Linked DNA regions of Homo sapiens: region 1 is linked to region 2. Evidence: promoter capture Hi-C in 16 types of primary human blood cells and fetal thymus (Javierre and others, 2016). All regions are on one chromosome and are shown on one strand. Each heading gives the region's core, a stretch centred on a gene start or on the middle of the fragment in contact. The rest is flanking DNA. Distances are from core to core; before and after follow the strand shown. Region 1 overlaps CCDC68 (coiled-coil domain containing 68). Region 2 holds the start of POLI (DNA polymerase iota).

What was found. Contacts are between HindIII fragments. The CHiCAGO score rates a contact against its expected background, and 5 or more counts as called.
Region 1: a contact is called between a fragment that was not itself captured here and the fragment with the promoter of POLI in region 2, in 4 of 17 cell types (M2 macrophages, erythroblasts, monocytes and 1 more). The highest score is 14.5, in M2 macrophages.

What each region holds. Positions count from the first base shown.
Region 1 is chr18:54,951,459-54,958,628 of GRCh38, reverse strand. The region is part of intron 1 of CCDC68 (coiled-coil domain containing 68); the gene reads left to right. It also overlaps the pseudogene MAP1LC3P. Among named protein-coding and RNA genes, the nearest start is that of CCDC68, 4.4 kb to the left of the region's middle. The HindIII fragment of the contact is 1,689 bases long and covers 4,832-6,520 here.
Region 2 is chr18:54,264,834-54,271,573 of GRCh38, reverse strand. It overlaps POLI (DNA polymerase iota), which reads right to left and starts at 2,057. Exons shown (of 10, transcript NM_007195.3): 1 at 1,913-2,057; 2 at 89-214. The coding sequence starts at 2,027. LOC124904307 (a long non-coding RNA gene) reads left to right here and starts at 1,669. Exons shown (of 2, transcript XR_007066379.1): 1 at 1,669-1,748. RefSeq lists enhancers at 1,576-1,625, 2,156-2,285, 2,546-2,695 and a silencer at 1,696-1,945. The HindIII fragment of the contact is 5,901 bases long and covers 1-4,923 here.

The DNA.
Region 1 (7,170 bases), core at 4,427-6,926, 680 kb before region 2:
AAATTGAATATAAGGATCAGAACAAGCAACAAGCCCTGAACATAACTGAAGGTGTACCTGCTCCCCATTATATTCTGATTGTTTTATTTTAGGAATCAAAACCTCTTTTACTTTCTTGGTGTATATAGTTCGGATGAAGTGTCAGAATACAAAAAGGAATTATTCTGTGTTTGTGATAGGGAGGAGATAATCTGTTCTTTTGATTTTACCTAATGCCATTAAATATTCAGAGCTACTGAAGTCTGGTTTTCCTGATATGTGAGCTGGGCAGGAGTGTCAGGTACCCTGGCAGACACAATTGGTGCTGTTGTTATGCTTTTCCCCCGCTGCCCACTCTCTTCCCCACCCCACTCCCAATTTGAGAGGGAAGGCCCCTGACACAGAGGAATTTCTGCCCAAGGCAGGGAGTATCCCCGTGTGGTTCCTCAAATGTTTGCAGAAAGAATGAAAACAACTACACTTCTTGGGACCCAGGCCAACGTCATAAGGCCGACGTCATAAGAAGGTTCTTTCCTCTTGTTATTTACAAAATAAATTGATCCCTTGTCCTAACTAGAAAGAGACTTTTGAAATTAATACTGTTGCTATTTTGTGAATTACTGATAGGCATGTTATTTGTTAGCTTATTTGTTTACAGTATGCTCAACATTGAAGGTGAGTTGTAATCCAAATTTTGGCCAAAGCTAAAAAATGTAAGCTAGATTTAGACAAACCTGAAAAATGAGGTGTTTATTTGCTTGGAATAATGACTGAAAGGGGAAATAACTGAAGATTTTGATGGGAATGTAAAAGTCTTTTAAAATAGTAGTTTCTCATCTTTAGAACTGAGATATTTACATCAAAATTATATGGCTATTTATTGATTGAAAACATTTCATAATGGCAAAATTTTACCATGAATTTACTAACACGTTTAAATGAATGTCATTTACTAAGCACAAAAACAGCCATTTATATAGGTTTGGAAAATGAGAGAGAGAGAGAGAGAGAGAGAGAGAGAGTGTGTGTGTGTGTGTGTACATTGTTTTAGAAACTATTTGGTACATCTGTAAATTTGTGGGCCTATTCATGTATTCATTGAAACAATATTTATTGAGGACACTGTGTTCTGTGTGGGAGAACCAGATGGGAGGGGAAGTAGGGTCTGGGCCAAACACAGCCCTGTGTAAATCAGACACATTTCTATCCTCCTGGAATTTACTACATTGGAGTCCTCCAGGCCACCCCAAGTCAAGGCCATAGATTTACAGACCACATAAATGATCCATTCAATTTCGACAGTGACTAAAACTAGATTAGTTTCAAATCACATATTTCCTTTCACTGATTTAAAAAGTCAAGTCTAAAAATGATAGAGGAGCTTGCATGTTATTCTGCTCAGTGGTTTTCTCTTTTGTTTAGGTTGGGGAAGAACTTAGGAATCATGTGTTCCAGGCTTAATGTTATGAAATATTAACTTAAAATAGCTAAGTATCAATTTCATGCAAATTAAATAAAAACTAAACTTGTAGTATGGATGACAATAATCTAGAGACAAAAATTAATGAACAAAAAATTTAAAACTGAAAAACATCTATCCATTAAATTATATTTTTTCCTATAAATTAGAAAAATAAGACTACAGTTACATTCACCCCACCCCCAGAGGAAAACAGCATCTTTATTCAAGTTATTCTTACTTTTCCTTCTGTATTTTTTTTTAAAAAAGCTTTATTGGAGGTATAATTTACATACCATAAAATACATCCAAGTGTATAATTCAATGATTTTTGGTAAATTTACTGAATGGTGCAACCATTAGCACAATCCAATTTTAGATCACTTCATCATTCCCCAAATATCCCTGGGGCCTGTTTGCAATCACTCACCGTTCTTACCCCAGCCCCAGCAACCCCTAATCTATTTTGTCTGTTTAGATCTGCCTTTTCTGGACATTTCATACAGATGGAATCGTACAATATATAGTCTTTAGCATCTGGCTTTTTTCAGTTAGAATAGCTGTTGAGGTTTATTCAGGTTGTCACATGTAGCTGTAGTTGGTTCCTTTTTATTGCTTAACTAGGATTTATTCCATGCCATGGCTATGCCGCATTTTGTTCACCATTTGGTAGACCTTTCTGCAAATACTTTTGCATGGTAAAACAGATACATTGGTGCAGCTTCTATGGTAGCATAATGTGAGAATAACTGATATGAGCCAACCTCTTATTTGGTGCTTTGACTCTCTTCTATGATAATTTTAAATATGAATGCCAAGAGTTAAACATCCAGGTTCCTATTAAGCAGTGGTGTTTTCTGTGTGTAACTCTCCAACAAACCAATGTTAAGAACTTCTTACCTTGGCTGGGCACAGTGGCTCACACCTATAATCCCAGCATTTTGGGAGGCTGAGCTGGGCAGATCACGAGGTCAGGAATTCGAGACCAGCCTGACCAACATGGTGAAACCCCATCTCTACTAAAAATACAAAAATCACCTGGGCGTGGTGGCATGCGCCTGTAATTCCAGCTACTCGGGAGGCTGAGGCAGGAGAATCGCTTGAACCAGGGAGGCAGAGGTTGCAGTGAGCCAAGATTGCACCATTGCACTCCAGCCTGGGCAACAGAGCAAGACTCGTCTGAACTTCTAATTTTCCCCAGCAATTTGGGAGGCTGAGGCAGGTGGATCACCTGAGGTCAGGAGTTGGAGACCAGCCTGGCCAACATGGTAAAACCCCTTCTCTACTAAAAATGATTTTTTAAAAATTAGCTGTGTGTGGTGGCATGCGCCTGTAATCCCAGCTCCTGGGGAGGCTGAGGTAGGAGAATTGCTTGAACCTGGGAGGTGGAGGTTGCAGTGAGCTGAGATGTCACCACTGCACTCCAGCCTGGGCAACAGAGCGAGACTCTGCCTCAAACAAACAAACAAACAAACAAACAAAAAAGAACTTCTTAACTTTGCAAGAACATTGACTTTTGGTATACCTCTGTTAGGAATCAGGAAACTGGAATAGCAGTTCCCAGCCAGAATTGTTTTCTTATATATCTCCACTGACCTTGCTTTGTGCTAACTATTATGGCAAATGCATTTTGAGTGGTGGGGGCGGGTCATGCTTCACAACTTATGCTTAAATATCCTCTTAGGAAGATTTCTCTAGTAGAACAGAAATCCTTTTATAAAAATCTAGCCAGTTCTGTGAGCCTAAAAAGAAGACAGTGTCTCTCTGAGTGCCCTTAAGTTACTACTCAAATTGCAAATTCCTTTTGGGGGAAAAAAAAGAGCATCAAAATAACTTGAGGTCTGTTTGTGTGTGTGTGTGTTTTTCAAGACGGGGTTGTATTCTGTCACTGACGCTGGAGTGCAGTGTCAGGATCCTAGCTCACTGAAGCCTCAAACTCCTGGGCTCAAGTGATCCTCCTGCCTCACTCAGCCTCCTGTATGGCTGGGACTACAGGAATGTGGCACCATGCCTAGCTAATTAAATTTTTTTTTTCATAGATGGGGCATCACTGTGTTACCCAGACTGGCCTCCAATTCCCAGCCTTAAGCAATCCTTCCACCTTGGCCTCCCAAAGTGCTGGGATTATAGATGTGAACCACTGTGGCCAACTTTTGAAGTCTATTTTATTGGCAATTTAGAATGCAAACTATTTTTTTTAACATCTACAATTTGAAAAGAAGATAATGTAGGTTAAATAATATAGTTTTCCAAAGCTGAATGTCTTCATTTGCAACTCATTTTTTTCTGCTTGAAATGTCAAACAACTTCCTAAAACTCCTAGATGAGAATACTACTACTGTTTTGATGATCTGTTTGTGATTGGATGGAGTAATCAATCTTGTTTGGTAATACACCTTTGTTTCCTTGGTAAGGATTTTTAAAATTCTAAAACAAATGCATTTTTTTTCTAGCCTTATACTCACGATTTTATAGCAAGTATCTCCTAAGAGGTATTTACCATCTACAGGAATCCACCTTCATCATTCTCACTTTCATATACTCCAGGGATCAGGATCAGGGCAGAGACATTCACCAAGCTATGTTGGTTTATCAAGAGAAAGAAGGCTTGATTAGTATTGAGCTGTAAGCACCTGCTATTTATTTTGATTAGGTCACTTACATTGTTGTGATCTGATACAAGGAACTTAGTTTTACCCAAAGTGGGAAGCTGCCTCTGACTCTTCTATCTTTCTATAAACACCTGGATTTTGGTAGGATGCTGCTCTTGGATAAGTCAAACGTCTTCATGGTGTGGGAGGGTGGGCGATGGTGTTGATAAAAAGTAGGGTCATGGCCCGGCATGGTGGCTCACACCTGTAATCCCAGCACTTTGGGAAGCTGAGGCGGGTGGATCGCCTGAGGTCAGGAGTTTGAGACCAGCCATAGGCAACATGGTAAAACCCCATCTCTACTAAAAATACAAAAATTAGCCGAGTGTGGTGACACATGCCTGTAGTCCCAGCTACTCGGGAGGCTGAGGCAGGAGAATTGCTTGAACCTGGGATGTGGAGGTTGCGGTGAGCTGAGATTGAGCCACTGCACTCCACCCTGGGTGACAGAGTGAGACTATGTCTGAAACAAAAAAAAAAAAAGAAAGAAAGAAAGAAAGGAAGGAGGGAAGGGAAGGGAAGGCGAGGGGAGGGGAGGGGAAGGGAGGGGAGGGGAGGGGAGGGGAGGGTCCTGGCTGTTTCAGGCCCTGAATAAGTAGATATTTTCATCATCGATCCAACAGTGTATGTGCAGATGGACAAATATGAAGAATGAAAACATATTGTGCATCTAGAAAGCTATTAGAAAAGGAATGGGTAGATGAGAAAAGAAGTTCTAGGTTCACAAATTAGATTTAAAGCTTGTTGGAAATATTCTTATATTTCTTATGTATTATTGTATATTTCCTTCTACTTTATCACCTTTAATAAACAGTGCTTATGATTAAGTTTTTAAAAATGTTTAAAAGGCTTTCCTTGTTTCTGTCATACTGAATGCTAAGTTTAATTGACTAGTCATGTAGCGTGAGCTAGAATCAGCAGCCCAGTTGCCTGTTGTTTTTAACAACCCTGATTCCATTGCTCTCTATCTATGTATCTCTCTCTCTCTATATATATATATGTGTGTGTGTGTGTGTGTGTGTGTGTGTATGTATATATATAATCATTTACACTCTTTTGGGGGTCAAGAATTTGAATGAAGAAAAACAAATCCAATTAATTTTGGCTTCCAGTTACTTCTGATAAAATCAGTGAAGGTTCTTGGATTTTGAAATCTCAGTTGTGCATTGCTTTTTTTAGATCCTGCCAGGTTACTATTTTTTAAATAACATGTACAAATTCATCTTTTTCAGTATAGACTATTGTAAGTTTTTGGAAATTGTTATAGTCATAGAACCATGATCACTAACAAGATATATTCCCCCACTCCAAAGTCCTATGTGTTCCTTTTGTAGTTAACCTGTCCCCCACTGCCAGTCCCAAGTAACCACTATCCCTTTTGATTCCTACAGTTTTTACTTTTCTAGAATGTCAAATGGAACCATAGAATATGTAGCTCCTTGAATTTGGCTGTTTCAGTTAGCATGATGCATTTGACACTTATCTATGTTGTTGGGTGTATCCGTAATACATTCCTTTTTTTTTTTTGAAACAGAGTCTCACTCTGTCACCCAGGCTGGAGTGCAGTGGCACAATTTCAGCTCATTGCAACCTCTGCCTCCCAGGTTCAAGCGATTCTTGTGCCTCAGCCTCCTGAGTAGCTGTGATTACGCACGTGCACCGCCACAACTGGCTAATTTTTGTATTTTTAGTAGAGATGGGGTTTCGCCATGTTGGCCAGTCTGCTCTCGATCTCCTGACCTCAGGTGATCAGCTCGCCTCGGCCTCCCAAAGTGCTGGGATTACAGGTGTGAGCCACCATGCCTGGTCCATTCCTTCTTAATGAGGAGTTGTATTCACCTGTTGGTGAACATTTGACTTGTTTGCAGTGTTTGGCAATTATGAACATTTGTGTGCAGGTTTTATGGAATATAACTTTTCATTTCACTTGGATAAATACCAAGGCATGGGGTTTCTGGGTTGTATACTATGTATTTAACTGTATAGGAAACTGCCAAGCTGTTGTCCGCAGCAGCTCCACATTTTCCATTCCCATCAGCAACAGACAGGAGTTCCAACTGTTCCACATCCTCACCAGAACTGGTATGGTTTCTCTTTTTCCCCTTGCTGGATAATTTTTTTAAATGACATAAATTATGTTCAAGCTAAAATAATCCAGGACAAGCTCAGAAAACTGTAGGTATTTTATAAATTCCTGGGCTCTTCACTCCTAAAATATTTTATAGAGCCACAAATGACATTTTCTAAAAGGGCATCATGTAAATGTTGCAAGTGACTGTGACATATGTCATTGACCTCAGCTTCCTTTTATATTTTATTGACTGGCAAGTGTTACTCAGCTTTTGGGTTGACTTGTTAATAGAGAAGTTCAAATCAGGAGGAATAATTGGCTGATGGGTTAAGGAAAGAATAGTGAGGGGAAAACTAAGCTTGGGAATTGACACTTTCAAATCATGTCCTACAAGCAAATGTCCACAATAAGTTGTGAGTATAAACATTATGATTTAATATTAATTTAATGTGCATGAAGTCAGATGCTCCATTAAGCACTTTTCATGCATTATCTCATTTAATCCTCACATAGCTCTGAGAAGGTTGGCATTCTCATCTGAATTTTTCTGTTGAGGAACTGAGGCTTAGGGAGTTTAAATGATTTTCCAAGACCTCCCAGCTGGTGATGAAGTGGAACAGAGTCTTGTAGGCAGAACAACTGAGTCCAAATCCCTTGTTTTTAAGCCATGCAGCCAAACTGCCTTTGTTCATGGAATAAATCTACTGGGACAACAACATCTGTTCAGGCTCCTGAAGGACACACCTGGGACCTCCCATCAGGAGTTCTGTGACTGTTACTTGGTGACCTACTTTGGAAAACTTTGATTCTTAAGCTATCTTGGGCCCAAGAAGTTGAGGCTTAGAAACTCCTTCAGAATGTAGCAGAGGCAAAGTGGTAAGTTAGAAGGAGCTAGTAGACTCATGAGAAAGAGCCAGACAACTCATGGTTTGGGATCCAATGGCCACCAACTAGTTATCTTTGTTTATCTTGTTGAGCCTTGTTTCTTCATCTGCAAAATGGGAATAATA
Region 2 (6,740 bases), core at 808-3,307:
ATAAGGTTAATAAATCAGTATATAATGAGCATGATGAGTTGCTAATCTAATCATTATGCAATTAAAAATATTATAAATCTACAGTTACCTAAAGGTTTGTCTTTTAGCTCTGGATTTGAGATCATTTCTACTTGTGCATAAAAGCAATCCAGATCCACATGTACTATGACTCTGGATGAAGCATTTGGTGTGGGCAACACTTGATCATGAACTCCTGCACAATATGCAAAGAAATAAAAAGAAATTCAGGCTGCTTATTATCTCTGAGCAACTGACAGTTCCTTAAAACATGGTACCTGTGAAGGAAGAATGCAGAGTGACGTGTTTTCTCCTGGATTATGTGTGAAAGCATCGAAAAATTACAAAGACATGAAACTCCACTTAGGGTAGGGTCTTCAGTCCTCTTAATTACTGTTTGTGCACTGCGTTTTTCTCAGGATAGTAATAAGTTTGAAGGGAAAAAATGTGATAAATAATGGATGATGAAAGAGCTAATACTATCACCTGGAAGTTTATAGTAGCTCTTAGTGTAAACCAGAAGGGGCAGAAAAGTTGAAATGACGTTGATTTTCACACAGCTTGAAAATTATTCTAAGCAGCATGCCCTTACATTTAAAACAAACAAACCAACAAAAACTGAAATACAAAATGGCAAAAGACAACCAGTGGGTACAAGTGTGGGCTATTTTTAGCTCCCATGGCAGCAGGATTATCTGGTTTAATGCTAAATCGCCAGTGCCTAAAACAGTGTCTAGGACATAACAGACCACCAATAAATATTCACTAAATTGAAAGACTGAATAGTTCTTTGATTTTAAAAAGTTGTTAGGTCATTATTTGTCGGGGAGGGAATGACAGAGGCGACTCCTTCTCTCAACACTGGCTAAAAACAAGACAGGCAAAATACAATACAATATTCTGGTTGGGATCCTGGAACAGAAAATGAACGTTAGCAGAAAAACTGGTAGAATATTAATAAAGCGTGTAGTTCAATTAATAGTATTATACCAATGTTAATTTCCTAGTTTTGACAAATGTACTGAGTTTATGTTAACACTAGGGGGATCTAGCTCTGCAACTTTCAGGTAAACCTAAAGTTCCAAAATTTAAAAGGCCAGGCACGATGGCTAACTACTGTAATCCCAATACTTTTCGAAGCTGAGGTGGAAGGATCGCTTGTGGCTGGAGTTTGAGACCAGCCTGGACAACACAGCTACACCTGATCTAAAAAAATCTGAAAATCAGCCAGGTGTGGTGGCACGTGCCTGCTGTCCCAGCTACTCGGGACGGAGAGGCTGGGGCGGAGGATCACTTGAGCCCAGGGGTTCGAGGCTGCAGGGAGACCTTGTCTCTAAATTAATGAATGAAACAAAACCAGCAGGAAATGAGAACCGGTGCCTTTACATCCAGGCCCTGAGGTGGGCGGTACAAGGTAAAGACCAGAGCTGGAAGTGGGTCACCGGAGACGTGACCACAGCGGACCTGACTCCGCCTAGGTTCTGAGCCATCCCTTCCTGCCAGGACTGAGATCCGGGTCCCACCTTCTGCCAAATGAGCGACAAGGTCCTCAACTTCTCCAAAGTTAAAAGGCCCAGAAGCCTCTGCAGTTTTCGTCGGGCTGGCTGAGGGATTCCCGCCCCACCTCGCCCCTCACAGAGGAAAGGACGGCGCAGATAAACCCTCGACACGTATTTGTAGTGTGGACGCGCCCCACCCTACTCCTGCTGGGTGAAGCCATTCCTCTAGAGGTACCCGCCGCGTAACACAAGGCAGAGGGAGGCAGCCCTCTCTTAGAGGAGCCGAGTGGGGCGGGGACGGTCGCGCCCCAGTGGCCGCCGCCCCGAGCGTCCGCCTGCCCCACCCTTCTCATTTACACCCAAGGAGGCCGCTGGCTCCTCTGGCTGCGGCGCACCCTGCGAGCTGGCTGCCGCCCCCACGTCCGCCAGTTCCATGGCCCAGGCCTCGGCGTCTTCCTCGTCGTCGTCGCCGCCGCCTTCCTCCTCCGGCTCCACCCCCAGCTTCTCCATCCCGCCGCTGCCAACCGCAGCGCTACTTCCGGCCGCTTCCGCCTGGTCTCCAGGGAAACCGGGGGACTACAGTCTCCAGTCGCTCTGTGCCTCTCGCCTGCGCAGTCGTGGCCGACCAGCCTGTTGCCCAGAGTGACACGCATGCCAAGGAATCGTGGAGGCCCACGTGCGGGAGTTTTTTCCCGCCGGGTGGAGGCCGGAAGCGGAGAGATTGAAAGCACAAATGGCTATTTTTTTTTTTTTTGAGACGGAGTTTCGTTCTTGTTGCTCAGGCTGGAGTGGGCAACAGTGACGCAATACCGGCTCACTGCAACCTCTGCCTCCCGGATTCAAGCGATTCTCCTGCCTCAGCCTCCCAAGTAGCTGGGATTAACAGGCATGCGCCATCACGCCCAGCTAATTTTTTTGTATTTAGTAGAGACGAGGTTTCACCATGTTGGTCAGGCTGGTTTCGAACTCCTGTCCTCAGGTGATCCACCCTCCTAGGCCTCCCAAAGTGTTGAGATCACAGGCATGAGCCACTGCGCCTGGCCTTTTTTTTTTTTTCTTGAAGGCTTTGGAGTTAGGCCCACATCACAAATTTTAGCGTTTTGTCTTTGTTCCATTCGGCTGTTAGCAAACTTGCAAATCCCTAGACCTGAGTGATTAATGTGATGGGGTGGGAAGGAGTGTAACTGATAGTAAAGACACAGGTGGCCTTGTAAACTCATATGATTAGCAACTATGTTAAGGTTTGCTGTGTTTTGTTTGTTGTTGTTTTATTTAAAGACACTGTGACGAATTCAACCACAGAATTTTTAACATCAAAACTGAATAGGATTTGATACATGAGTGTTGTAGTCAGACAAAATCTCCAATCCAGACCCTCCATCATGCTGTGTGACTTTGGGCAGGTTACATAACTGCTGTGAGCCTCAGTTGCTCTACTCTTAAAAAAAAAAAAAAGTATTGAGATTGAATGAATGGATAAAAGCTACCATATACTGTAATATCCTAATGTATATAAAACATGTGGCACATAGGAAGTGCTCAGTAAATGTCTATTCTCCTTGCCTTCTATTAGGATACCATGTGTGCATGTGTGTGTTGGTGTGTGTATGTGTATGTTTTACAATAGAGGAAATTTGGAAATTCCTCCATGCCTGTATGTATGTATATACACTATATCTGTATAAATACCCAAATTAACACATATGTTTGGTTTTTTATATGATTCTACTTCTTATCAAATAAAATATTAGAACCTTGAGAAACCCTTTAAAGCAGCCATTCCCAACCTTTTTGGCACCAGGGGCTGGTTTCATGGAAGACAATTTTTCCACAGACAGAAGGGAGGGGGATGGTTTTGGGATGATCCAAGTGCGTTACATTTGTTGTGCACTTTATTTCTATTATTATTACATTTTAATAGATAATGAGGTAGAATCAGTGGGAGCCCTGAGCGTGTTTTCCTGCAACTAGACTGTCCCATCTGGGGTGATGGGAGATAGTGATAGATCATCAGGCATTAGATTCTCATAAGAAGCATGCAACCTAGATCCCTCGCATGCGAGTTCACAGTAGCGTTCAGGCTCCTGTGAGAATCTAATGCCGCTGCTGATCTGACAAGAAGCAGTGCTCAGGCAGTCATGCCAGTAGTGGAGAGTGGCTGTGAATACAGATGAAGCTGCACTCCCGGGCCCGCTACTCACCTCCTGCTATGCGGCATGGTTCTTAACAGGCCAGGGACTGGTTCTGGTCCATGGCCTGGGGACTGGGGACCCCTGCTTTAAAGGATATGTTGATGCATCCATGAAGAAAAGGGAATAACAAGCAGAGCTGGGTCTCAGTGGTTTGGAAACAAAATCTTCCTCTTTGCATATTTAATTCTTAGATGTCTGGACCAGTTCTTTCAAAGTCTGCTATCTAGGTTATAAATTACCTGTTCAGAGAGCTAGGCTGCTATCTTTGTGAAAGCTGTTTGATAAGTCTAGATAGTTGTTTGGTGGTTTTTCATTTTATTTAGTTATTTATTTATTTATTTTGAGACAGAGTCTCAGTCTGTCTCCCAGGTTGGAGTGCAGTGGTGCGATCTGGGCTCACTGCAACCTCTGCCTCCTGGGTTCAAACAATTCTCCTGCCTCAGCCACCTGAGTAGCTGTGATTACAGGCGTGTGCCACCATACCCAGCTAATTTTTGTATTTTCAGTAGAGACAGGGTTTCACCATGTTGGCCAGGCTGGTTTCCAACTCCTGACCTCAAGTGATCCGCCCGCCTTGGCCTCCCAAAGTGTTAGGACTACAGGCATGAGCCACCGCGACCCAGCCTACATAGAGAGCTTTTGAATTGAGTGTCTCTTTGTCCACTAAGTGCTTCTTGGACAACATTCAGTGGTCTGATTACTAATAGACAACCAAAGTTTGTTTTTCTTTTCATTCTTCCAGATAGAAAATGATATAAACACTAAAATACTATGGCAGATGAAAACGGTCTCTCTAGAAGAGCCCTAGGCTCACTAACATTCAACATGTTGCTTAAGTGAGACAGTGTTAAAAAACAATGCACGTAATCAAGCCCTCTTTAGTTAGTTGCATTTATTTCCCCATCCGTTGTTTAATTTGAAGAGTGGCTTTTAATTTCGTGAAAGGATAGAAAAGTAGACCCTTGGAAATCCTAGGGGAGCAAGCAGGGCTGGCTTGATGAGTATGTGACGTAGGCAGTCACATAGGGCTCAACACTTGATTTCATATTCTGCTCTTGTCTTGAAATTCTTAATTTTTTAACAAGGAAGCCCCATATTTTCATTTTGCCCTGGACCCCAGAAAGTATTTAGCAAGTGCTGGAAATAAAGAAGAGAAGCAGCACTAAAAAGGACACTCATAAAACACCTGTATATCAAGCACAGGGCTAAAAGCTTGAAACAGGTCATTTCATTCAATATAATAGCCCTAGAGGGTAGATGTCAGCATCCTCATTTTACCAAAGATGAAATAGCCTAGGAGAGATTAACATGCTTGCTCAAGGCTATGAATCTAGTAATGGCAGATCCACTTTTCAGAATTTTCCACAGTGAAGAATTCATTAATAATGTTTTCTCCATATAGGAAATCAATTAGCTCTGACCATTTTCCTCACTGCTTCAAACACCAGACGGCTGGTAGTGGGGAGAATAAACATCCCTCAAAGGTATTAAGAGGCACGAAAATAAAATTTATATAAGCTAACGTGTCTCATTGTTTTGGAATGTTTTAGGAAAAAAGGATTTTGGGGTTTGATTCTAAAAATCCCTACTCCCAGTTTTAATTAATAGGATCTAATCTAGAATAACTTCAGGAAATAGCTGTCTTGAGCTTGGGTCATAACTGTATATTTAAGTGCCAAATGAAGAAAACAATTTCAAGGCAGAATAGACATAGTTAATTAAATAATATTATGGTCAAACAAAATTTATGGAGGAGCATGGATTTACAGAGCGTGGCTAGTGGATAAAGAAGCTGGAGGCATTTTAGAGCTTCAGAAGTCAAGACATGCCAACACGGTGGCTCACATCTGTAATCCCAGCTACTCAGGAGGCTGAGGCAGGAGGATTGCTTGAAGCCAGGAGTTTGAAGCTTCAGTCATGTATGATTATGCCACTGCACTCCAGCCTGGGCAACAGAGCGAGACTCCATCTCCAAAAAGAAACAAAGAAAGAAAGTCAGCACATTATGAACTTAAATACATTTAAAAGGATAAGCATGAACTCCCATGTCAGTGGAGGGTAGGAAATAGGCATCAGTGGTTACTTCTCTCCTCTTAGCCAAATTGGCCACATATGGCTCAGAGGAAGAACACTAGACAATGTTCAAGGTATTTCATATGAAGAATGTGAGGGTGTTTGTGTCTGTATTTTATGTTGGTGGGTGGCTAAGTGGGTAGAGTTGACCATGGAGTTAAAGGAGCAATTTGAATTGGCAAAGGCACAGAGGATTTGATTTTGTGAGGTCTTTGGCCTAACGCAATCGTTCTCAAGCAAGCTGATTTTGTTCCCTAGTGAATATTTGGCAGTGTCTGGAGATATTTTAGGTGGTCACATCTCTGTGTTGGAGCTCTGTGCTACTGGCATCTAATGGGTAGGGGCCAGGGATATTGCTGAACATCCTGCAGTGCAAAGACAAACCTTTATGACAAAGAATTATTCATCCCAAAGTGTCAATTGGTCCGTGGTTGGGATACCAGTAGTGTCTACACCACCTTGCTCCCAACTAGCCTCTTCAGATTAGGGTCTCCAGTTGTAATGAAGAATTGGTCTTCAGTTACGTGCTTTTAATTATAGATAGGACCAGGTTTGGTGGCTCATGCCTGTAATCCCAACACTTTGTGAGGCCAAGGCAGGAGAATGGCTTGAGCCCAGGAGTTTCAGACCAGCATAGTGAGACTTCGTCTCTAAAAAAAAGTAATAAAAAAAAAAATTAACCAGGCCTGGTGGGACATGGCTGTAATCCCAACTACTAGGGAGGCTGAGGTGGGAGGAATGCTTGAGCCTGGGAGGTTGAGGCTGCAGTGAGCTGTGATTGTACCACTGCACTCCAGCCTGGGCAACAGAGTGAGACTCTGTCTCAAAAAAAAAAAGAAACACACACACACACAAAAGAAAAGAAAAGAAAAGAAAAAAGGGTATAAAAGATGAAAATAAGTATTATTTAGTTGCTTCTCACTGTGGGAATTTACATTCTGATACTAAAAAACAAATG